Linked DNA regions of Homo sapiens: region 1 is linked to region 2. The links are contacts of gene promoters, found by promoter capture Hi-C in human tissues and cell types (Jung and others, 2019). All regions are on one chromosome and are shown on one strand. The core of a region is centred on a gene start or on the middle of the fragment in contact, and the rest is flanking DNA. Distances in the headings are between cores, read along the strand shown.

The links. Contacts are between HindIII fragments. The study calls those that stand out against the background at their distance.
Region 1: a contact is called between a fragment that was not itself captured here and the fragment with the promoter of HDDC2 in region 2, in 1 of the 25 tissues and cell types used here (dorsolateral prefrontal cortex).

What each region holds. Positions count from the first base shown.
Region 1 is chr6:124,850,871-124,856,717 of GRCh38, reverse strand. No RefSeq gene overlaps it. Among named protein-coding and RNA genes, the nearest start is that of RNF217, 110 kb to the left of the region's middle. RefSeq lists a silencer at 8-208. The HindIII fragment of the contact is 3,311 bases long and covers 1-3,078 here.
Region 2 is chr6:125,300,383-125,305,721 of GRCh38, reverse strand. It overlaps HDDC2 (HD domain containing 2), which reads left to right and starts at 3,755. Exons shown (of 6, transcript NM_016063.3): 1 at 3,755-3,873; 2 at 5,063-5,184. The coding sequence starts at 3,790. RefSeq lists a cis regulatory region at 2,052-2,232 and a silencer at 3,726-4,065. The HindIII fragment of the contact is 16,583 bases long and covers 1-5,339 here.

The DNA.
Region 1 (5,847 bases), core at 174-2,673, 450 kb after region 2:
TTTAATAAATCTACTGATTCATATGGTAATCTCTTTCAGAAATACCCTCACAGACACACCCCGAAATCGTATTTTGCCAGCTGTCTGGGCATTCCTTAGCCCAGTCAAGATGACGTATAAAACGGACCATTCCATTTCATCAGTGTGAAGTGAGAGTAATCTTTGCGTGGCATTGCTGTGTTGTTACAAATGCCTATGTGAGCTGAAGGGAGTGGTTTGTTACTCTGAGTTTTAAAAAGTAAACCTAGGTTAAAAACATATAAAAACATTATGATATTTTTGGTTACTATAGCCTTGTAGTATAGTTTGAAGTCAGGTAGCGTGATGCCTCCAGCTTTGTTCTTTTGGCTTAGGATTGACTTGGCGATGCAGGCTCTTTTTTGGTTCCATATGAACTTTAAAGTAGTTTTTTCCAAATCCGTGAAGAAAGTCATTGGTAGCTTGATGGGGATGCATTGAATCTATAAATTACCGTGGGCAGTATGGCCATTTTCACCATATTGATTCTTTCTATCCATGAGCATGGAATGTTCTTCCATTTCTTTGTATCCTCTTTAATTTCATTGAGCAGTGGTTTGTAGTTCTCCTTGAAGAGGTCCTTCATGTCCCTTGTAAGGTGGATTCCTAGGTATTTTATTCTCTTTGAAGCAATTGTGAATGGGAGTTCACTCATGATTTGGCTCTCTGTTTGTCTGTTATTGGTGTATAAGAATGCTTGTGATTTTTGCACATTGATTTTGTATCCTGAGACTTTGCTGAAGTTGCTTATCAGCTTAAGGAGATTTTGGGCTGAGACAATGGGGTTTTCTAGATATACAATCATGTCGTCTGCAAACAGGGACAATTTGACTTCCTCTTTTCCTAATTGAATACCATTTATTTCCTTCTCCTGCCTAATTGCCCTGGCCAGAACTTCCAACACTGTGTTGAATAGGAGTGGTGAGAGAGGGCATCCCTGTCTTGTGCCAGCTTTCAAAGGGAATGCTTCCAGTTTTTGCCCAATCAGTATGATATTGGCTGTGGGTTTGTCATAGATAGCTCTTATTATTTTGAGATACATCCCATCAATACCTAATTTATTGAGAGTTTTTAGCATGAAGGGTTGTTGAATTTTGTCAAAGGCCTTTTCTGCATCTATTGAGATAATCATGTGGTTTTTGTCTTTGGTTCTGTTTATATGCTGGATTACATTTATTGATTTGCGTATATTGAACCAGCCTTGTATCCCAGGGATGAAGCCCACTTGATCGTGGTGGATAAGCTTTTTGATGTGCTGCTAGATTTGGTTTGCCAGTATTTTATTGAGGATTTTTGCATCAACATTCATCAAGGATATTGGTCTAAAATTCTCTTTTTTGGTTGTGTCTCATCTTATGATATTTGCAGTATGCATTTGGTTTTTGAATTTGTAATTTGTTTTGACTTTGTTTCTCAGTCTAAAACCTCAGAATAGAAGAGCAATATGAGTTTAATGATATCTAAATCAGCTGTTTTATATTGTCAGTGAATTAATAGTAAAAGGAGGATAAAGAAAACAAGTCTGTTGCCTATTTCTCATGTTGAATTTGCAGAAGTTTTTAAATTTCTAGTTTTAGGTTTTGCACATAACAATAAAAAATGGTTAGATAAGCTTTTGTTTGTTAATGTAATATTGTTTTTATAGGATACAAATAGTAAAATCAAGGAAGCTATGTTATTTTGATAAAATTGAGATACTTAAATATCTGGATTTGGTGACAGCAACAGTAAACTGACTGATTTGTTAAATAAAACCTTTTGCCTTTAGTAGAGCTATAAAGTTAGTCATAATGGTTTAAAAAGATATCACTTACACAGCTTAAATTCATCTTGATTTAACCAAAAATATTCTTCTTGACCTAAGACTCTATTGAAAATATCTATCGGATTAGACATTTCAATGAGAACTAGTCTCTCTGTCTTATAGTAGCTTGAAGTCCTGACTTGTCTTTTTTCAGCATAGTGACAGAATTAATTCCTTTTATTGCATAAGAATTTAATTAATTTCTAAAAGCTCTGTGGGCTTAAAATTATTTTGTTGTCAATTTTTAATATAAAATCTTAGATGGTATCACTGAGATGTAGAATCAAAGAATGTATGTTGATAAAAATTAAAACTAAATTGTTTACTTATTTTGCCTATAGTCTTTGAGAAATTCATATATACTCTTTTAAACACTAGATGGCACTAGAAATGTATCATAATAAATTGTTTCATCAGGAGGAATTATTAATTTTATGACCTCCTAAGATGGTGTGTTCTTTGGTTATATATTTTTGAACATTTAAAATAATTTAACTATTTCCACTAGTACCTTTAATTACTGAAATAAGTAATGAGGTTTCCAAACTGTAGAAATACATAATTCATAATTAAAATTTTTCAAAGTATTATTTTAGTGGTCCATAGATATTGCCACACCTCAGGTTTCCTCATCTTATGAGATTGCTTCCCTTTAAGTTCATCAAAAAGAAGACACATGCTCTACAAATAGAAATAATGAGTAGGTTCCTGAATTGTTTACTAACCTGATTACCCATGAGGCATGAATCATCTGAACACACTGGAAAAAGATTTAAATTCTTGACACATATTACTTCCTTCAAGAAAGATAGCATAAAACGAATGATATGCCACTATATGAGGACATTAATGACAAATTTTTCATCAATTTAAGAAATATTTACAATTAGTCACTGAGTAAGATAATTGGAAATGCCCTGAAATCTCGCAATATAAACACTTTCCCAAATTTGACAGTATTCCTAAAAATTTACCATCATCAACAATGTTTTGTGAAGCCGAAAGACACTTTTATATACTATCATTAAAACATGTTGGTCAGCTGTGCTAGAGGAAAGGCGGCTGAGTTATAGTCTTTGTCATGTGGCAATATGATCGAAGAGTGTAGCCAGTCAATGGGGTATTTCAGATAGTAACATAATCCAAGCGTTAAGATCGATTCTGGATCTTGTGATTTTTGTAGCGTTTGTCTACTTTTAAAACTTTTTGATTTGTTGTAACTTCTTTTCTCATTCTGAATACATGTTTACTTTTATATGTAATTTTATATATATTCTTTTTCTTCAGTAGGGCTTAAAACACTGTGTGAGCTTCTACCTGCCCAAACCTGGATTCATTCTGTTCCAATGCCTTTTAAGTCCCAATAATGTCTTGCTCCCATTTAACTCTCTGGCCTTATCTACATTCAGCATATTACTTTATATTTTTATAAAAAGTAATTATTCATTTTTGTTCACATAGCTTTATTTTTTTACCACCGGGATTTTATGTATGTTGTACTCTTTGTTTTTTATGTCCTTTCCCTTGGGATTGTCTTTTAAATTTGTATTTATCCAAGTCTATGAGACATGTCTCATATATGAGGTGCAAAAAGTAATTACGGTTCTTGCTATTACTTTCAATGGCAAAAAACACAGTTACTTTCATAGTAACCTAATGTTATTTCCTTCAGGAAAGGGGCTGTGATCTCTCTCCTAAACTTCCACATTTCCTCAAGCCAGCTAAGAGTAATTTCTCCCTCATCTAGAAAAACGTATTTTTATTTTCTTCTGTGACACATTTCTATGTGTATTTAACATCCTATATTTGTAAGAATGTATTATTTTTTCTACTGGGTTCTTAACTTCCTGATGAAAGGGACTGAATATTACCCATCTTTGGGTTTCTTACAGTACCCAGCACAGCTCCTTATGCATCATTGGTAACCCATAAAGATGTTTAAGATATATTAATGAATATATGAAAGCTGTTTGATCTGAGGGTCACAGCATATATTTTTCTCTGCCTGTTCATTTGAACTCTTAATTTTTCAGACTTCGGTACATGGTTATATTTAAAATAAAATATGCAACAACCAGAGACTTTAGGAGACAAAAAAGAGGATGTTTTCTGCATTTACAAAAAAAATTGTGCTTCTATCTCAGTATAGACAACATCACGGCACCATAGTTTCCACTTCTGGCATATTTTTAGTCGCTTAGGAGTTGACAAACTGCAGCCTATGGGCTCAGTCTAGTCAGTTGCCTGTTTTTGTAAATTAATTTTATTGAAACACAGTCACATCCATCATTCTAATAATGTCTATGGCTGCTTTCAAGCTATAATGGCAGTGTCAAATAGTTGCAACAAAGACTGTGTAAGGAATCAAGATGTAAACCCTGAAATAATTTAATAGATTTTACTTAGGACTTTTGCAAAGGGGTAGGTTGCATCATCTTCTCTAAAATGGGCAATTTATTAATTGCCAAACCATTAGTACAGTAACAAGACATACTATTTCCTATAAAGTGTTAATAAACTAGCATGTTGTAAATTTATGTATATTTTTAAATGCAATGCAAAGAAAACAGACCTCAGATTAAAATACATATGATGAAAGAATTACATTCCTCTTATGTGACTTAATAATTTAAATACTATGAACATCCAGTTGAGAAATTCAACCAGCTTTCTTAGGCCTTATTTTTTATGACCTACTTAAAGCTTTTATCACTGTTGAGCTTGACCTTCTTAAACTATTCTCTTGACTTCTTTGATACTGCAGTGTTTCCATTTCTACCTACCTCCTAGATGGGCCTTACCTATGTCCCATTTGTCCTTTCCTTCTTTCCTCCTAAAAATTTCAGCATATCACAAGGGTTGGTCTTACCTTTTTCTAACTCATTATTCTGATTCCTGAAAAGATCTTTTTTTCATGCTTTCAGTTTGTATCCCATTGTAAACAATGTTCAACTTATCTCTAGTATACATCTTTCCTTGGTTTCAGCTCTACAACTTTAAATGCCTGTTGGAATGAAACAACATTTTTTTTTTTTGTCCTCAAAAATCCCTGGTAACTAAGTTATCTTGGTCCTGTTTCTGACTTTTTGTTTCATACCTTCTCATCATTTTCATAGTAAAACAAAGTTTTCCCCTTCTATTCTAATCATATTGCCAGAGTCTTGGTTCCAAATCTGTATTGCTTCACATTTGCACAAGCTGAGTGTTTTAACTAGTTTCCTGACTCTTCTTCCCTCTAATTCATTTTACAAAGTATGTTAAATTTACTTATTTGGTCTTTGAAAGAAAATATCCTAGAACATACATTATTAGTTTTATTTGTAATTTAACCAACTAACAATTGAGTTTGATTATTTATTAGTTACTAAATATTTAATTGAATAGTCATGGCTTGCCAGGCACTATTCTAGGCTTTGGAAATGTAGTAATAAACAAAACAGAGATTTCTGTACTCATGGAGTTTGCATTCTAGTTTGAGGAATAGATGATAAGGTAAAGGAGCAGAATTATAGTATTGAATTGTATGTGCTAAAGATAAGAATTAAGAGGGTAGGAAGATATAAAATGTTGAAGGAAGACTCCATTGAATAGATGACTAAAGACATGATGAAAGCATAAGAAACTGCCATGTAGATACATGACAGGAGAGCATTCTAGGCAGACAATACAGCAAGAAGCAGTTAAAAGATGCCTAACATATTTAAGGAACAGCAGAGAGGGCAGTGTGACTGTTCAGTGTGACTGAAGCAGAATGAAGAAAACTGAGACAGATAAAAAGGTTAAAGAAATGGCAGGGGTCCAGATCTCAGATCTCAGAGGGTCATGAGATGTTGATGCACAGGAGAGTTTTATGCAGAGAAGGGACATAATCAAAGTTAGATTTTAGGAGATTTGCTTTGGATGCTGTGTTGAGAACTAAGGGGAGAAAGGGTAGAAACAGGAAGGCCTGTTTGAAGACCTCTGCAATAGTCCTGATGTTGAATTAGGGTCCTAGGGAAGTAGACTCTGAGACTGAGATTAATGTA
Region 2 (5,339 bases), core at 2,506-5,005:
AAGTTGTAGACAATTTCAGGGTATCCACAGGTTCCCCTGAAATGTATATTGGATCCAAGTAAAGAGTCCCTCTAACGAGAGCCTTCTAATTTCAAACATCTTTCCTTCCAATTGACTCAAGTACATTGTGCCAAATCTCCTTCCTTGCTCACTGCTTTAAAATGGAACCACCTTCTGTGGAAATAAATTGATTCCTATTTCCTCTAACCTAATGCTAGAGGAAGATGCTTGACCAACACATCATTGAAATATGTCTTTGGTTTTGTGAAATAGAAACAGGCTTTCCAATTTCCCTTCTTCAGCAGAAAAGGGGAAGAAGGGTATTTGGTAAAAAGGGATTCAGGACATCCAACATGATTATCCACTGTATTAGTTTCCTATTACTATTGTAACAAATTACCATAAACTTAGCACAAACTTATTATCTTACAGTTCTGGAGGTCAAAATGGGCTGCATTAAGCTAAAATCGAGGGGCGGGCCACACTGCATTTCCTCCTGGAAGCTCTAGGGGAGAATCTAATTTTCCTGTCTTTTTCAGCTTTTAGAGTCTGCCTGCATTCCTTGGCTCATGGCCCCTTCTATCTTCAAAGCCAGCAATGGCCAGTTGAGTCTTTCTCCCATCACATCCCTTTGGCATTCACTCTTCTCCTTCCCTTTTCCATCTTTAAGAACCCTTGAGATTACATCTCACTCATTGGGATAATCCAGGATAATCTCCCTATTTAAAGTTCAGCTGATTAGCAAAGTTAATTCCATTTGCTACCATTCTCCTTTGCCATGTAATATAGAAATATTTGCAAGCTCTGGAAAAATTAGATATCCTTAAGAGGCTACTATTCCACCTTCTAGAGTCAAACATCTTGGTCTTTAATGATATAGTAGGAATAAACCTTGTTACGAACCCTGATGAACATCTTCAGTTTACAAAAGCAAGAAGTCGGCACTATATTTTGAGTTTTCACAGTAACAATTTACTTTTAGATAGTAATGTCCCCTCCAAAAATCCATATCATCTTTAAATAGTGTCCCTCAAAAACTATTTATACTCAATTCATAATTTTTCAGCAACTTGACGTCTTCCAACTTCTGATCACTTAGGAAACTGGAGAAATTCTTTACAGCTCACTACACAAAGTTAAGATAACTCACGTGTATTTTGCAAAGAAAGTTGCAAATACAGACAGAAATACCCATGGAAACTAAATCAAGCCTGCATGAATCAGGAGGAGCTCAAAGGAAATCAATGCATTGTTGGCAAAAGAAGACAAGGCTGCTCAGAAGGAACCGTAAGGGTTACACTGCACATTCACCAGCTAGCTTGCAGCCCCATTGCTTCATGGCACCTATCTCTTGAAAGCCCCTTACTACATCCTTCAGCAAATCCAACATCCTCATCTTCCTTATTCTCCTGGATCTTTTTGGTCATTTGCTTTCGTGTTCCTCCAGTGGACTGTCTGACTTTGCCTCTGATTCTTGATCCTTCTTTTTAAACCTTGATCCCTCCATTTTTTAATTTTTAATTTTTTAGAGACAGGTTCTGTTTCCCAAGCTGGAGTGATCATAACTCACTGCAGCTTCAAACTTCTGGGCTCAAGTGATCCTCCCATCTAAGCCTCCCAAGTAGCTGGGATAAAGGCACAAACCACACCTGGCTTGATATTTCCTTTATTTAGCACCACTTACCATCATAAAAATGGCTTCCAGGTCATTATCCTAACCACGTTTAATACAAGCCCCAATGTCCTTGGCATTTATTTGGTTCTTAGTCATATTTAATCTTGTTGCTGAACCAGTCTTCAAAAAAATTATTTCATGCCTTCTTTCTCCTTGTATTAGTCCATTCTTGCATTGCTATAAAGAACTACTTAAGACTAGGTAATTTATAAAGAAAAGGTATTTCATTGGCTGTACAGGAAGCATGGCTGCAGAAACTCACAATCATGGTAGAAGGTGAAGGGGAAGCAGGCATCGTCTTCACCTGGCAGAGCAGAAGAGAAAGAGAGCAAAGGGGGGAAGTGCTACACACCATTAACCAGATCCCATGAGAACTCACTCACTATCACAAGAACTGCAAGGGGGAAGTCTGCCACCATGATCCAATCACCTCCCACCAGGCCCCTCCTCCAACTTTGAGGATTACAGTTTGACATGATATTTGGGTGGGGTCACAGAGCCAAACTATATCACTCCTTAAACCTCAAATGCCTCCTCCTCTATTCACAAACATTCTAGCCTCCTTTCTTCCCAGAGGCCTAGCAAGATTGCACTCCACAGGCCCCCTTTGAAGTTAGACGTGGCAGTGTTACTTATTTCACCAATGATACGTAGACAAAAGGTCATATATCACTTCCAGAGACAGGCTTTAAGAGCCAGAGTGCCACTTTTCTTTTTTCCAATTTTGGCAAAAGAGAGCAAAGAAAGCCTCCTAGCTCCCTGAGTAAGGTTAGAGCAAGCAGCATCCTCTAGCTGATCTACAATAGACACTTAGCATGAGAGAGAAATAAACCTTTGATGTGTTAAACTGCTGAGATACAGGAAATAAGGAGGTTGTTTGTTATTATAACATCCCAGCCTATACTTTGCTTCCTAATTTGGTGAGAAAATAGAAGCAATCAGAAGAGAACTTCTACAACCTCCCATGACCACATGTGCGACTGATTAGTCACCCTATACTCTGTCCTCCTCCAATATTTGAATGAATTCTCCATATTCCTATCTAAAGCCCATCTTTTATCTTGTACACCAGATGGGAATATTTTTCCTTACTCAAGGCCGACATTCAAATATTTCTCTTCTTTGTCTCTTACATAATCAATGTTTCCCTTTCTACTAGATCCCCTTCATCAGTAAACATACATAATATCTCCTGTTTTGAAACAATCTCTCCACTAGTTAACAGCACCCCAACCCCATCTCCAATGTGCTGTAATACTTGCTCCTATTCTCTTCGGAATTATCTCACTAGGTTCTGCTTGGCCCACTACACTGAAAACTGCTTTTGTCAGGGTAACCAATAATATTGAATTTACTAAGTCTGGAAGTCAAACCTTGGTCCTCACATTGACTTGGTTGACCATATTCCTTCCTTCTTGAAATATTTTTGTACATGGCTTCCAGGACACAACTATCCTACCTACTAATCCTCTTCCTACCTCACTGGCTGTTCCCTCTTGATCTCACAAAGCCTAAATGTTGGGGTTCAGGTCTTGGGTGTCTTTTCTTCTTCATTCACACCCTCTTGCCAGGTGACCTCATCCAGTTTCATGGTTTTACACTGTCAACTGAAGAATAACGAGGTTCATAAATTTAGAAAGGAGAGCTTTATTTTTCATAAAGAGTACTGAGTGTCAAGTATGTGCCAAGCAAGGTGTCTGCCACTGACGGAGCAATGCCCAAGCAGCGGACACCAAGGCCAAGAAGGCGAAGGCTGGACAGAAGGTCCTGAGAAAACCGTGAGAATATGGAGGAGGGGGAGGAGGAATAAGAACAGGAGGAGGAGGGGGAGGAGGAATAAGAACAGGAGGAGGAGGAAGAGGAGGGGGAGAGAGGAAGAGGGGCAGGAGGAAGAGGAAGAGGAGAAAGCGGAAGTGGGGGAGGAGGAGGAGGAGTTGGAAGGGGAGGAGGAAGAGGGGGAGCAGGAAGAGGGGCAGAAGGAAGAAGAAGAGGGGGAGGAGAAAGAGATAGAAGAGTAAGAGGAGGGGGAAGAAAGACAAGGGGAAGGGGAGGAGGAGGAGGACGGGGAGGAGCTTCGCCGCGGCCTGCTCCGCCCAGCCGGGGTCGGTGGCCGCATGGCTTCGGTCTCCTCTGCGACCTTCTCGGGCCACGGGGCTCGGTCCCTACTGCAGTTCCTGCGGCTGGTAGGGCAGCTCAAGGTGAGCGGGCACCAGGCCGGGAGGCCGCGGCCGAGCGGGCGGGACTGTGGGGCGGCGGAGCTTCCGGCCTCCCCGCTCGGCCGGCGGTCTTTGCCCTTCCTGCGCCGCGTCCGCCACGCCGAATTCCGGAAAGGCCCCAGTCCTGCGGATGCGGCCGCGCGTTGCCGACGGTGGACGGAGGAAGCAGCCGGCGGGACAGGCTGGCCAGCTGGGGCGGCCCGGAGTCTGAGCCTAGAGCCTGGCGCCGCGAGGTCCGCACTGCAGCCGCGCCAGTTCCCGGAGAGCAGCCGGCCTGGCCCTGCCTGCACTGAGCTTTTCCGGGGCTCACGACCCCAGAACTCGTGTGTGTGTGTGTGTGTGTGTGTGCTCACGACCCCAGAACTCGTGTGTGTGTGTGTGTGTGTGTAAAGCGCGGCTGCTTCTGAGCACGGGTGGGAAGAACAGAATCTGTCGGCTCCTCAGATTTTAAGTGGAGCTTTTTATGTCTGTCTCACAGTTACTTCCAGAAACAAGACTTTTCTCCCGGCCACCCCCCAAACGGGATTTAATGTAATACACACGAGTTTCATCATGTGCGTCTTCCCCGTCTCTCTCCCAAGTTCAAAGTAAATTATCCGTTTCATGCCACTCTGACTACTATTTATAACATTCCTTAGAGATGTAGAATTCTGAGGAAGAAATGCAGTTTCACAAGATGAAGTTATGATGTGAATAAAAGGAAGAGTCACGGCTGGTAGCATCAAGCAATTAGAAGTGCCCTTATCCCTTGTGCCTCAGAATTTGGAAGCCTATCACTCGTTCACGTTCAGACCCTTCAATACAGTGTTTTCTGCTTGTGTAGGATTATTTGAAGGCAAAAAGCCGCAACTCTTGTTCGGAAAAATGCAGTTTTGTTTTTGTTTAAAGGACTTGCATATGTTCCATAATTATACATCAGTAACAGAATAATTTGACGAATGGACTTTGTGACTTATCTCTCTCTGTCTTCTACCCCTTTCATTCTCTGAGCTCTCTAGTTCATTTGATTCCAGATGTCTATCATTTTAGCTAGTTTAGCAAAACATTTTGTAATAGGTTCTGAAATTATGACCCGGCTTCTGTGTGTTATATCCTGGACATCTCTTGAAGAGCATAGCAGATAGTTAATATTTGTTCTTTAAAACTTCTTTTTCTTCTTCATATTTATCAGAGAGTCCCACGAACTGGCTGGGTATACAGAAATGTCCAGAGGCCGGAGAGCGTTTCAGATCACATGTACCGGATGGCAGTTATGGCTATGGTGATCAAAGATGACCGTCTTAACAAAGACCGGTAAGCTGAGCTGGACTTTGATGCTCGTGAGAGATTCTGGTCTATGGGTGTGCACCCGTTTTTACTACTGAGACCCATGTCAAATCCTTGTAGGTTAGTTTATAGGTCAAGAAAAATTATTTGAAGCAAACCATACAAATTTAGGATGTGGGTTA